2 separate regions of the Homo sapiens genome follow, and region 2 is linked to region 1. The links are contacts of gene promoters, found by promoter capture Hi-C in blood cells and fetal thymus (Javierre and others, 2016). All regions are on one chromosome and are shown on one strand. Each heading gives the region's core, a stretch centred on a gene start or on the middle of the fragment in contact. The rest is flanking DNA. Distances are from core to core; before and after follow the strand shown.

Evidence for each region. Contacts are between HindIII fragments. The CHiCAGO score rates a contact against its expected background, and 5 or more counts as called.
Region 2: a contact is called between a fragment that was not itself captured here and the fragment with the promoter of ATP10B in region 1, in 1 of 17 cell types (naive CD8 T cells). The highest score is 5.4, in naive CD8 T cells.

What each region holds. Positions count from the first base shown.
Region 1 is chr5:160,849,059-160,856,093 of GRCh38, reverse strand. It overlaps ATP10B (ATPase phospholipid transporting 10B (putative)), which reads left to right and starts at 3,883. Exons shown (of 26, transcript NM_025153.3): 1 at 3,883-4,153. The HindIII fragment of the contact is 1,109 bases long and covers 3,520-4,628 here.
Region 2 is chr5:163,318,080-163,325,114 of GRCh38, reverse strand. The region is part of intron 1 of LOC105377700 (a long non-coding RNA gene); the gene reads left to right. Among named protein-coding and RNA genes, the nearest start is that of CCNG1, 120 kb to the left of the region's middle. The HindIII fragment of the contact is 2,832 bases long and covers 2,065-4,896 here.

The DNA of each region.
Region 1 (7,035 bases), core at 2,634-5,133:
AGATTATTATACAATTTATATGAAAAAGCATGAAACCAAGAATAGTTAAAACAATTTTGAAAAAAAATAAAGTGGAAGGAATCTATCTACCTGATTTTAAGATTTATATGATTATAGTCATCAAGACTGGTACTGGCAGGGGTATAAACAATGGAGAAGAATCCAGAATCCAGAAATAGATCCACACAAATATGCAACTAATTTTTTTTTTTACAAAGTTACAAGAACAATTCAATGGAGGAAGGACAGTCATAAAACAAGTGGTTCTAGTACAATTGAAAATCCAAATAAACACACAAGGAAACCTTGATCTTAACATTACAGTTTACACAAAATTTAACTCAAAATGGATCATAGACTTAAATGTAATTCATAAAATTATAAAATTTTTAGAGAAATAGGATAAATATTTAAGATTTAGAAGTATGCAAAGAGTGAAAAGGAAAATTGATTCAATATTGCTTTAAAAATTGATGTAAATAAACCTTTTGATCTGTGTAATACCCTGTGAAGGGGATAAAAAGATAAGTTATGGATTGAAAGAAAACATTTCCCAACCACATATCCGACAAAGGTATAGTATATAAAGAACACTCAAAACTAAAAAAAAAACAAACAAAAATTAATTAAAACATAAGCAAAAGACATTAAGAAATATTTCACCAAACAAAATATATAACTGAGAAATAAGCACATAAAAAGATACTCAACATCATTATCCATTAGGAAAATGCAAATTAAAACCAAAATGAGATATTGCTATACACCTATTGAAATAACTAAAGAGTAGTGACAACACCAAATGCTGGTGAGGATGCGGAGAAACTAGGGCCCTCACACATTTCTGGTAAGAAAGTAAAATGGTATAGTCACTCTGGAAGAATATCGCAGTTTCTTAAAATACTAAACGTGCAAATACATCTAGGATTAAAATACTAAACAAGCATTTATTAAAATACTAAACATACCATACAATCCAGGAATTAAACTTCTGTCTGTGCATTTATTCTAGAAAAATACTTCTATTCACACAAAACCTGTGCACAAATGTTTATAGCAACTTTATAACAGAGCTGGAAATAACTCAGATGTCCTTCAAAGGTGAATGGTTAAACAATCTGTAGTTTGAGTCCCAGATACTTCCTAGTTATGTGAAAGCACAGTTATTTTATTCCTTTTCCTACATTTTCTCTCTCGTAGAATAAGAATAATTGCGTCAATCTATTAAAGTTTTTGAGGGAATTAAATGAGTCAAAGTATGTAGAGCACTTAACATGGTGCTGGCACAAAGTACTCAGTAAAAATTAGCACCAATAGGGAGTGTAAATTAGTTCAACCATTGTAGAAGACAGTGCGGAGATTCTTCAAGGATCTAGAACCATAAATACAATTTGACCCAGCAATCCCATTACTGGGTATATACCCTATAAGTCATTCTACTATAAAGACACATGCACAGGTATGTTTATTACAGCACTGTTCACAATAGCAAAGACTTGGAACCAACCTAAATGCCCATCAATGATAGACTGGATAAAGAAAATGTAGCACATACACACCATGGAATACTATGCAGCCATAAAAAAGGATGAGTTCATGTCCTTTGCAGGGACATGGATGAAGCTGGAAGCCATCATTTTTAGCAAACTAACACAGGAACAGAAAACCAAACACCACATGTTCTCATAAGTGGGAGTTGAACAATGAGAACACATGGACACAGGGAAGAAACATCACACACTGGGGCCTGTCAGGGGTTGGGGGGCTAGGGGAAGGGATAGCATTAGGAGAAATGCCAAATGTAGGTGACGGGTTGATGGGTGCAGCAAACCACCATGGCACGTGTATACCTATGTAACCTGCATGTTCTGCATGTGTATCCCAGAACTTTAAAGTATAATAAAAAATAAAAATTACCACTAATAACACTTGCACAGCTTGTAGAAGATAGTCTTAAGATTATGAAATCCATCCTGGTTGTGTGGTACTGGTGTCGGGGATGGGAGCAAAAGCCTCTGTCTACCATTGCTTCTTTAATTGACTAGTTTGGGCAGCAAGAATACAAAAGCTAGACATGACACACTGTGTAAAAATCAGGAATGAAAAGCATGATGTGGTCAATAAGAAATGCAAATACATACAAAAATGCTAAATTGCCTTAGTGTAGAAAGATTGCCTGCTGGAAATAGGAACTATAAGTAAAACTCTGTGAGTGTGATTTTTAAAATATGATTTATTACAAAATTCCAGCAGCCAAACAAAAGAAAGATAGTCCCTCTAATAAAAACTGAACATAGCATTTCTTATCTATTATTTGTTTATTAGGGTTCTAATTAGCCAGACAGTGTCACTTAATTTCAACACATTTTATAAATAATTTGCCATATGTCTGTTAGTATTTACGATTTCCAGGCAGTTTGGAAAATGAACATATTTGAGGACTCTCTATTCATTGGTTAGCATGAAAACCCAAGGGATGCTACAGACACATTTGTTCCTAAATTGCATGTGCCTCTCTCTTTACCAGGAAAGTGATAATGGGAAAGAGCTGGTCTTAGGAGAAAGACCAGTGATGGAAAATATACTAGTCTTAGGAGAAAGACAATGTGGTTTGAGGTCCCATGTTCACCACCAAATTCCTGTTTGGCTTTGAGCAATTGTATTCACTTCTCTGAGCTTCAGCATTCTCCTCCATGGCACAAGGGGGCTTCACTAAATAACCTCCAGTTACCCACTAGTGCAATATTCTGCAATTTAACCGTATCTGTGATTCTAGACCACACTCGTCCCTAGAAGCCAGAGCACTCTGAGTGAAGGGAAGTAAAGGAACAGGGACTTAAGCATTCTTCTCTTTAGCAGATGGAGAATTTTGAAATGCCAACTCGCTCTTTTAAAAATTCTAGACTGTCTAAAGCATAGGCAAATTTCATGTTCTTAAAAATTCCTAGCTTGTGTCTTACACACACAGCGATGCAGATTTTAGATGGTGTGGGTGTTTCTTCTCTTGTAAAATGTTTCCTATGTCCATGTTTCTTCTTGGTATTCTGATAAGATCTGTAGGTACATACAAAGTTCACAATTACTCTACCAACCAACCAAAATCTTATGTAAAGATTTTCATGAAGTTAGTATGTTCACTTCTTTCCAACACCTTTTATTCCTAAGTTTGGTAATATTTCTTTTTTTTACTACCCTTAAAATCAACTTACTGCTCATTCTACCTTCTCTTTTATTTATGGACCCATCAATAATTATCCATCAATACAGCAACTTGCTCATGACATTTATGCCAATTAGTTGAGTTGTAGGTAACTTAATAAAAGGATTATACATGAAAATCTCATTTTAGGGTATGAATCGAAGCTATCAATAAGCCCATTACTAATTCTGATTTTCTGTAAGTTTGCACCATTCACATAATCTGCCACTATAATATATTGGTCCCACTTTCCTTATTTTGTATAATCAAACAGTAATCAATAAAAACTATGACTACTGCAAAATGAGACTTCTGAAGCTTTGAGGGCAAATTCATCATCAGCATGCATATAAAAGTCACTGTAGAGAGTCTTTTCTTTCTTAAGTGCCCTTGAAACCCAGCAGCTGAATCATATTTCAGGCCCCCCAAAGAGAACTGCAAGGTTATAATTGTCTCACACTTAATTACATGCATTACCAAAGGTAGATGGACAAAGTCATTTTGTACCATGCGTAGAGAATAAAAATCACCATGAATTTTGATATTGCTGGCTCATTGATTCACAGGAAGTAGAAATTTATGCAAGAACCATGTCTAACAATGTAAATGTTCAGCCAAGTCGAAGAACACTGCCTTCACTGTTCTGGGACTCGGCCTCACATTCACAGACTTGCTATTCTTCTCTTTCACTCTTGGGCCTAGCGAGGCAGCTTATTTTTCCTTTTTCTTTCATTGGTCACAGTTATTTCTTTTCAGTGTGTCATCTTCTCTAAGTTTCTGAGGGAGTGTTAGCTTGAGGCCTTGCCTTGACATAATCAGATATAATCAGAAAAATGAAAAATTCCATAGGAAAGAGAACTATTTTAGCCAAGGTGTGCGAGAGAAATACCGCCACTTTCAAGCACTGTTTTCTTCTACTGGAGTCTGCTCAATAGGGACGTCAGCTTTGCTGGGGTAAGTAAAAGCATCCTGGCCTTAACCTATATAATGGGGGAGTAATTGCCTCTTAGAATCATCAAGTCTAAGTTCTGAATTAGGCCCAGGATATGACTACTTTTCTTTACACTGCATTTGAAATTTCATTTGGCTTTCTGGGTGCGAGATCCACATTTCTTTTCTAACAGAATGTTTTATTTTTCGTCAATTGATTTCATTATGATAAGCTGATGGCAAATGCTACTTCCTCACTCAACAGGGCTTGCAGTCTGAATGTGCCTGAATACATTTTATGATAAATAATATATCCTGCTATCCTGCATTCATCCAGTGCAGCCTGAGGAAGCAGATGGAGTTACAGCCTTCTTCTCAAAGCAGAAAGAAACTATAGCTTTGAGGAAGAGAATGAGATCATTACATGGCTTCCCAATTTCATCTTGATAAACTCTGAAGCTGCCATATTGCAGTAGTTTTCAACTATAGGTGGGAAGCTTGACTTTCCTTTGAGTTCAAAGGAGAAAACTGTTGCTTAAAGAAAAATGTGTTTTTTCCCTAAGTATGAGTTACTCCTTCCAGAAAAAAAATAAAAAAGCCCCATGCATGCAGGTCTGTGATGAATACATTTAGGACAGTCCTGTGGCCTGCTATTAAGGCTGGAGTGACACTATCCCTAACCCTAAGGTGAAAAGTAATGTTAAAAATAAAAATTATACTGAGCTGCTAGTTATTTTGCCTACAGGAGTGCATGCCTGTGTCTGGTGGAACTTGGTTTTTCTCTGAATTTGCCAGGCAATTTTCTCTGAATTTGCCAGGTAGGCAGAGGAGAATTTGAAAACTGTAGAGAGGAGCTTGACCTCCCAAAGCCAATCTGGCACTCTGCTACTTCCTTCTTCCACAGTTTCTTCTCTGTTTCCAGATCTTGCAAATGTACAGTCAAGACTGCTTGGAGTATTATTCCATTAACAGACATACAGTTACATTAAGCCATTAATCAGGCAGATCACAGATGTTGTTTTCTGTCTAGATGTTACTATAATTACTCTTAATAACACCCACTGAGTTTGTCATTTCATCCATTGATGACTTTTTAAAAAATTCTTGGAAAATTCATTTCTTACAGCCTAATTATATGGATTTAAGGGTTCAGGATCTCTCCTCAGGTTTTCATCATGTATTTTTTAAAGAGTATAGCAGTATAACATCACATATGGGTGGATTAATAGGCTCTTGAGAAACTGAAGGTTGAAACCCACATGCTGACTTTTTACAGTTAAATCATACTCCTCTCGTGCTAAACGATGAGCCTTATCTTTTGAAGCATGTGATACTGATAAGTCCAGTGAAGGAGGCTGCCTTTCAAAGGAACGGAGCTCTGAGGAATGGAATGGAACTTAGTCTAGCTGCCTAGTTTACAGATGATAAAACTAGGACCTAGAGAAATGAAGTCTGAATTACTGAGAGAAAAGGACACCAGAGTCCAAGGCTCAGAGCTCTCAATCCAGTGTTGCTTCTTCTTGTTTATTTTGTTTTGTTTTGAGATGGAGTCTTGCTCTGTCACCCAGGCTGGCGTGCAGTGGCGCAATCTCAGCTCAATGCAACCTCTGCCTCCTGGATTCAAGCAATTCTCCCATCTCAGCCTCCCAAGTAGCTAGGATTACAGGCATGCACCACCATGCCTGGCTAATTTTTGTTTTGTTTTTTGTTTTTTGTTTTTTAGTAGAGACGGAGTTTCACCATGTTGGCCAGGCTGGTCTCGAACTCCTGACCTCAGGTGATCCGCCCACAGCCTCCCAAAGTGCTGGGATTACAAGCGTAAGCACCGCACCTGGCCCAGTGTTGCTTCTACTACCACTTTCATTCTTCAAACAGCTTCTGCCATGTCAGAAGGGAATGAAAATTTCTTTTGTGACTCAAAAGTAAACTAAAACTCGTTGGATTCCTGAGACTGATTCTACCCATTTACCCACTCTCCTTAAAGTAAAACTTAGCCAGGCATTCTTAAATTTTGCTTTGAACCTAGGGAGTTCTAGCTTTTCTGCTGATTAAATGTCACTGATTTCTCATTTTCTGGTGACATTGTTTTACAATTCTTTTAACTACAAAGTTTAAGTTTCTGGAGCCTTTTCTTCTTTTCATTTTTTATAAAATACCCTTTTATTAAGAGATGAAGTTGGGTAGTCAGAATAGGAGTGGGTATTGTTTAGTAGAAAAAAAACGGGCTTTGGAATAAAACTTGCATATGAATTACAGTTCTGCTTCCTATAATTGTGTAACCTTGGCAAGTTACTGCGCCTGTCAAATGCTCACATTAAAAGAGTGTGTGTGTGTGTGTGTGTGTGTAATTGCCAGTACAATTCAATAATTGGCCCACAGAAGGCACTTAATAATTGCTAGTTACTACTAAGAGAACCAGATGAGAAAGAATATTAATGGATATGGCATTTTTTGTTTATTAAGTACTGTCTTAAACGTCTGGAGAAAAGAAGGAGAATCTCATTTTCTGCTTTCGTTATTAGTGATCACTGGCTGCTGTTGCCAATGCAGGGAGCCTTGCAGATAGTTAGCAGCCTGAAAACAACTTGTATTATTTGAGAGGAGGTACTTTTGTCTCTTAGATAAAGTTTTTGCAGGTCGCTCTGGTATGGTGCAGTATCAATCTGAACTCATTAAGTTGAAGAAGTGACACAGGAACACAAGAATACATTGTTTCTTTGCCTCATCTGCTTAATTAAAAATTCCAGATCCCTCCACTCACAAGCAAGATTGATGGTGAAATCTTCACACACATGCTACCGTATGTTCTCTACCTCCTCCTCCCCAAGTACAACCTAGAGCAGTGGTTCCCAAATATGCTTCCTGGGCCGGCTGTATCAGAATTACTCGGGAACTATTAGAAGGGC
Region 2 (7,035 bases), core at 2,231-4,730, 2.5 Mb before region 1:
ATAATTAATTTCTCCATACACACCATTTAAAAAACATACCTCCTGTCACGGACACACTTTTGCAATAAAAAACTGTTTAATGAATAGACTAATTGAGAAGGTTTACATATCACATTCAAAGCTTGGGGAGCACCTGGGAACTAAAAAGTACATTCTGTTAGTAGGGATCTAGGCTACAGTCAGGCTGGCTTTCAAATGGAAACATGCTGGTTTTTTAGACTCGCATGGAGCCTTGTTTCCTGGTTGCATAATAGAATGGTGCAGGCAAGTTAGTAAATTCTGTATTTGCCACACAATAAAGAAATCTCCCTAAAACCTGACACCCTTGCTATGAGAATTGCTCAAAAACTTTTCCTTCAACACTCTTCCCAGATTCTGTTTATCTCAAAAGAGAAGACACAGGCTGATCTGCATTCTGCAATTGACTGCCCCATAGCCTCTGCAGTGTGCAGATTTGAAATTGACTTTCTCCCTGGAGGATGTTTCTTGGACCAGGAGGGTAAGAAAAGTCAGCTAAGCCAAGGCATCTTTAAAGATCTCTCTGAAGCAAGATACAAACTATGCTCTTTAGACAACACATTTTCAATGTTCTAAATCATGACCTTCCCTACTTCAAATGAATACCAATGAAAATCAATTCCTCCTGGAGTGAGAAATAGAGTTTACTGGGGTTTGGAGGTAGGTGGGAAGGGAATTTTGTATGTGATGGGAATTGTAGGCTTTCCAGGGGTTACTGAAAGTTTTGCAAGTTTTGCCTATAGGGAAAAGAGCTAAATTCCTACACATTAAAGAGAGTGGGCAATGGGACATTTACCTCAATTTTGGAATGAAAGAAATTTCAGAATCTTGTCACAAAATGGACATTCAGAGGCTTCTGAACGTAAAAGCACTTTTTACTCAACAGAATCACTGCATTCCAGTCTGATCATGTTTATCTTTACTTTGACAAACATGGTATTGAAAAGAATTAAAGTATCGGATGAGGCAGACCTCCTTTCAAATCCTGACTATGTCACTAAAAGCTCTGCATTCTAACTTCTCTGATCTTCAGTTTCCTTCTCTGTAAAATGGAATAATACCTTGCAGAGTTATTCTGATGATTAAATGTGATTACTATGTGAAGCAATTAATGCAGTACTGGCATTCATTGGGAACCCAAGATATGGTCCTTTTTCTCTCTCTGTATCTCTCACATCCATACACACCCTACACCCCTGATTCCCTCTGTGTATTGCTCTATCCTCTCTTGCGTTTTTCTCTCATCTGCTCATTCTTTAAGGCTCAGCTCCTATTTTTTACTTCTTGTCCCTACCTTCTATAGAGATCTCACCTTTTCACTTTTTCTAGTGCTTGTAGTTTAGTTTATCATCCTCAGAAATGTTTTATTTGGCTGGGTATAGTGGCTCATGCCATTAATCCTAGCACTTTAGGAGGCTGAGGGAGGCAGATCGCTTGAGCCCAGGAGTTTTGAGACCAGCCTGGACAACATGGTGAAACCCAGTCTCTACTAAAAATACAAAAATTAGCCAGGCATGGTGGTGCAGGCCTGTAATCCCAGCTACTTGGGAGACTGAGGCATGAGAATCACTTGAACCTGGGAGGTGGAGGCTGCAGCGAGCTGAGATCAAACCACTGCATTCCAGCCTGGGTGATGGAGTGAGAGTCTGTCTCAAAAAAAAAAAAAAAAAAAAAAAGAAGTATTATTTGATTAATGTGGCAAATATAACATTCACATACTCTATGGCATCCAGAATCTTGAAGGACACATAGCAGGTCTATAATAAATGTTTACTGGTTTATATTGTTATGTACTTCAGATAATAAGCCCCTTAATTTCTTCTTCTTTCTAAGTGAATCTGAGGACATCATTAATAATATTCATAGAATAACCACATGGTTTACCTGTATTTACTCAAAACTTCACAAGCACTCTATAAGGCAGGTATTATTATCCTCATTTTGCTAATGAGCAAACAGGGTAATAAGCAAAACATAATTTGCCCAAATTATATACCAGACATAGATATTGAGGATTTAAATTCAGGTCTTTCTGATTCTAAAGCTTACATTTTGCCATATTATGTGAATTTTTCCATTAAGTTTTTGATACAAATGTAGTTAGGGTTTAAAGTCTTGGCTTTGGAGCAAAACAGATTTTCTCTGTAAGCACTCTTCGTTGTTATAAATGTCTATTCATTGGGACAGCTACAGCCTCTTTTGTTGGTCCTTCTTATATGATTCTTGGTCCCTCCTATACGATTCTTGGTCCCTGTGAGCAGTGCAAGGAGGTGCTTGGATTCCTCCCCCTTGTTGAGAGGGTTTCAAGATAATTCAATCTTCTTACTCTTCTCATCATGGGCATTATTGTACCAGGCAGTACCTTTCTTAAAAGGGCAAGAGAGGCCGGGCGCGGTGGCTCACGTCTGTAATCCCAGCACTTTGGGAGGCTGAGGCGGGCTGATCACGAGGTCAGGAGATCGAGACCATCCTGGCTAACACTGTGAAACCCCGTCTCTACTAAAAAACAGAAAAAATCAGCCGGGCGTGGTGGTGGGCGCCTATAGTCCCAGCTACTCGGGAGGGTGAGGCAGGAGAATGGCGTGAACCCGGGAGGCAGAGCTTGCAGTGAGCCGAGATCGCGCCACAGCACTCCAGCTTGGGCGACAGAGCGAGACTCCGTCTCAAAAAAAAAAAAAAAAAAAAAAAAAAAAAAGGGCAAGAGAGAACCATAGATGGAGAGTAATGTTTTTTAGAGGAAAAAAAAAAAAGGCTCTTCTCAAGAGTTACATATATGGCTTTGGCATCTGCAAAAACAAAACAAAAGAAAAGAAAACACTCATTTACAAATAATTTGCTTCTTAAATACAAATTTTTCCTGCCATAAAACTTTGATAAATAGCTTGAGGAGTGATGTGACCCCATCTGTCTGGCTAATCCAAATTGTGTTTTCCCTCCTTAAAATTAGTGAAAGGAACAGTACAATTGCAAATAAATTATATTTTCCCCACAGATGAGAAGTATTTTCTATACTACAATGCTTTCCAATTATATAGGGTAGCTTCATGTTGAATAACAACAGAAGTTCCCAAATTGAGTGCTTGTGGCCAGCATCCGAAGTTCAATAATTTTGGTAATAGATCTTTTTCCTGCTTAAATGGATATGTAAAATGGATATGTAAATGAATATTAGAGGTTTCAAGAGATATAACACATTTCTTCCAGGCCCTATAATTTCTGCTTTGGATAATAATTAGTGATTTTCCATTACATTTCTAACTTTTACATTATTTATATTTTTAAAAAAATCCTTGGTGCTAGAATTGTGGTTTCTATTTCCTTTTGGAGGATAATAAGTTCATTAGGTTAGCAAATTATTTAAGTGTTTAATGTTATTCTCTTTGCTGTGAATTGCTGTACAATTTTGGGGAGGATGATTTATAATTTCCGGCCTATTTCCCTGCATTTTTGAGAAGGCTGAATAAACATATTTTCTGGAATGAAGAGAGAAAAACAGAAGAGAAACATTTGAGGGAGGCACTATAGGGTGACGTTTCATTCTTTAATGTAGTCCATAATCAAACTGGATTCCCAAAGTTGGATACAAATTGAGTATGGAAATCAATTTTATTTCATGTCTTTCTCAATTTAGTTCCTCACTTTGATTTTTCTTTCAATTGGCTTGAGTGTATCCTCAGGTAAGACTCTGGTTTTATGCATCTGAGCATACTTTATGTTGCCTTTATGCATGAAAGACAAGTGATTAGGATGCCAAATTATTAGCTCACTGAATTTTTCTTTCAGAATACAATTGGTTGTTAAATATTGGGCCAGTCCAGTTTTTATTATTTGTAGGTAACCTGTTTTCTTGCTTCTCCTGGTGCTTTTAAAATGTTTTCTTTATCCCAGTAAACCAAATATTCTTCATGATGTGCTTTGATATGGGCCTCTATTGATTTCTCATGGAATGTGGTGAATGCATTCAAACTGCATTCTCAGGCTTTATTACAATTTTTTTTTAACAAGGAAAATTTTTTTTGGATTATGTCTTTAATTTGTCGTGTTTTAGCATCAGAAATTTTCCCTTGTGTTCTTTTATAGGTACTAAGTTTACCTAAAAAAGACGGTAAACTAATTCTTTGTGACCCAAGGATATTCTATTGTCCATATCATGAGACAATGTGATGCGTGAAAATAGTACTTTTTTTTTTTTTTTTTGAGATGGAGTCTCGCTCTTTCGCCCAGGCCGGACTGCAGTGGTGCTATCTCGGCTCACTGCAAGCTCCACCTCCTGGGTTCATGCCATTCTCCTGCCTCAGCCTCCTGAGTAGCTGGGATAACAAGCGCCCGCCACCACGCCTGGCTAATTTTTTGTATTTTTAGTAGAGACGGGGTTTCACCATGTTAGCCAAGATGGTCTCGATCTCCTGACCTCATGATCTGCCCGCCTCGGCCTCCCAAAGTGCTGGGATTACAGGAGTGAGCCACCTCGCTCGGCCGAAAATAGTACTTTTAAACCAAGTCTATATGGATTATAAAAACAACTTTACTTCAGCGGTAAGAAGAGGCTGTTTTTGTTTTTGGCTCCTAGTTTTTGTTGTCTACATGGCGAACAGTACCTGAGTGCTTTGCTCACAATTTTGTAATCCCAGATAGGTCTCTTACTTCAAAACATCCAAGTGGTATAACCTTAATGCAAGAAGGAAATCTAGGTTGCTAGGGCCAAAAACATTATGGGTGTGTGGGTGAAAGAATTGGTTAGCAATATTTAAAATCAACAGAAAGAGTAAAAGGAAATCTAGATTTTAAACTATTCTGATTTCATAGTGTCCATATCTTTCACTGTAAATAAGCTGGAAAGAATTATAAACATTACTTAACTGCATAGTATCACAAGCTTATATAACTGTAGAAATATACATTGATACTTGTGTTTGTCCCAATTGCTCTGTTTTGTTGCTTGGGAATATTTCTAATTCCTAGCTTGGCTCACTGTTTTCTTTTCTCTATATCTAGCATTTTCTCTCTCATCAAACTCATCTTCTTGTTTTTTTTACTTAATCAGCAACAGTTAATCACAATGTGAGGCACTATCTCATTAAAGCTGAGAGAAGTGGAAAAGGAAAGATGAAAGTAAACTCAAAATATGAGGTGAGACTTTTAGAAAGGGTAACATGTGATCAAGCCCTTTATGGATGCAGAAGACTAACCAGGCCTAGAGAAGACACCTGACAGAAAAGGTGCTGGTTAAGGAGTGGTACTGAGGGAAGAGAGAGACCCTCTCATATTGTTTTATACTCAGTACCTGTTTTTTTTTTTTTTTTTTTTTGAGACGGTGTCTCGCTCTGTCGCCCAGGCCGGACTGCGGACTGCAGTGGCGCAATCTCGGCTCACTGCAAGCTCCGCTTCCCGGGTTCACGCCATTCTCCTGCCTCAGCCTCCCGAGTAGCTGGGACTACAGGCGCCTGCCACCGTGCCCGGCTAATTTTTTGTATTTTTTTTTTTTTTTTTTTTTTTTTTCAGTAGAGACGGGGTTTCACCTTGTTAGCCAGGATGGTCTCGATCTCCTGACCTCATGATCCACCCGCCTCAGCCTCCCAAAGTGCTGGGATTACAGGCGTGAGCCACCGCGCCCGGCCTCAGTACCTGTTTTAAGAAAAAACAACAAGGAAGTAAAACCAAAGACAGGCAGCCCGGCGCCAGGCCCGAAACCAGGCCTGGGCCTGCCTGACCTAAACCCAGTAGTTAAAAATCAACTCATAACTTAGAAACTGATGTTATTCATAGATTCCAGACATCGTATAGAACAACACTGTGAAACTCCCTGCCCTGTTCTGTTTCTCTCTGACCACCAGCACATGCAGCCCCTACAATGTACCGCCTGGTTGCTCAAATCAATCGCATCCCTTTCTTGTGAAATCTTTAGTGTTGTGAGCCCTTAAAAGGGACAGAAATTGTGCATTTGGGGAGCTCGGATTTTGAGACAGTAGCTTGCCCACACTCCCAGCTGAATAAAGCCCTTCCTTCTACAACTCGGTGTCTGAGAGATTTTGTCTGCGGCTCATCCTGCTGCATTTCTTGGTTCCCTGACCGGGAAGTGAGGTGACTGACAGACGGCCGAGGCAGCCCCTTAGGCGGCTTAAGCCTGCCCTGTGGAGTGTCCCTGCAGGGGACTCCAGCCAGCCTGAGAGGCACGATCCAAAGAGCGCTCCTGGGTAGGCAATTGCCCTGGTGGAACGCCTTGCCAGAGCAGCACATAACAGGCCCCTGTGGAGGATTAACACAGCGGCTGAATACCCGGAAGGAACTGGGACTTGGAGTCCGGACATCTGAAAGTTGGTAAGACTAGTCTTTGGAACTTGCCCCACTCCATCGGAGTGGAAGTGTGGCCTGATCACCCACGGTGTGCCTGTATTGGCACTTTTGTTCTGGTTTTGACTTGGCTTGACTTGGTAAGACTAGACTTTGGAACTTGCCCCACTCCATCTGAGTGGAAGCGTGGCCTGATCACCCATGGTGTGCCTGTATTGGCACTTTTGTTCTGGTTTTGACTTGACTTGAATTGCTGGATACTTTGGTTCTGGTTTTGACTTGGCTTGAATTTTTTGGTACTTGGATTTTGAATTTTGTGATTTTGGTTTGGTATAAATGGTAGAAGTGTGCATGTGCCCTCTTTACCCATTCTTTGTCTTGTGGTGAGTTTGTGTGGTGTGAGCGTGGTGTTTTGTCTTGAAGAAGCATGGGTCAGGCACAAATAAGCCCACTCCACTAGGAACTATGTTAAAAAAAAATTTCAAGAAAATTTAAGGGAGAGTACGGTGTTACTGTGACACCAGGAAAACTTAGAACTTTGTGTGAAATAGACTGGCCAGCATTAGAGGTGGGTTGGCCATCAAAAGGAAGCCTGGACAGGTCCCTTGTTTCAAAGGTATGACACAAGGTAACCTTTAAGCCAAGGCACCCAGACCAGTTTCTATAAATAGACAGTTACAGCTGGTTTTAGACCCCCTTTCCCCCCACAGTAGTTAAAAGAACAGC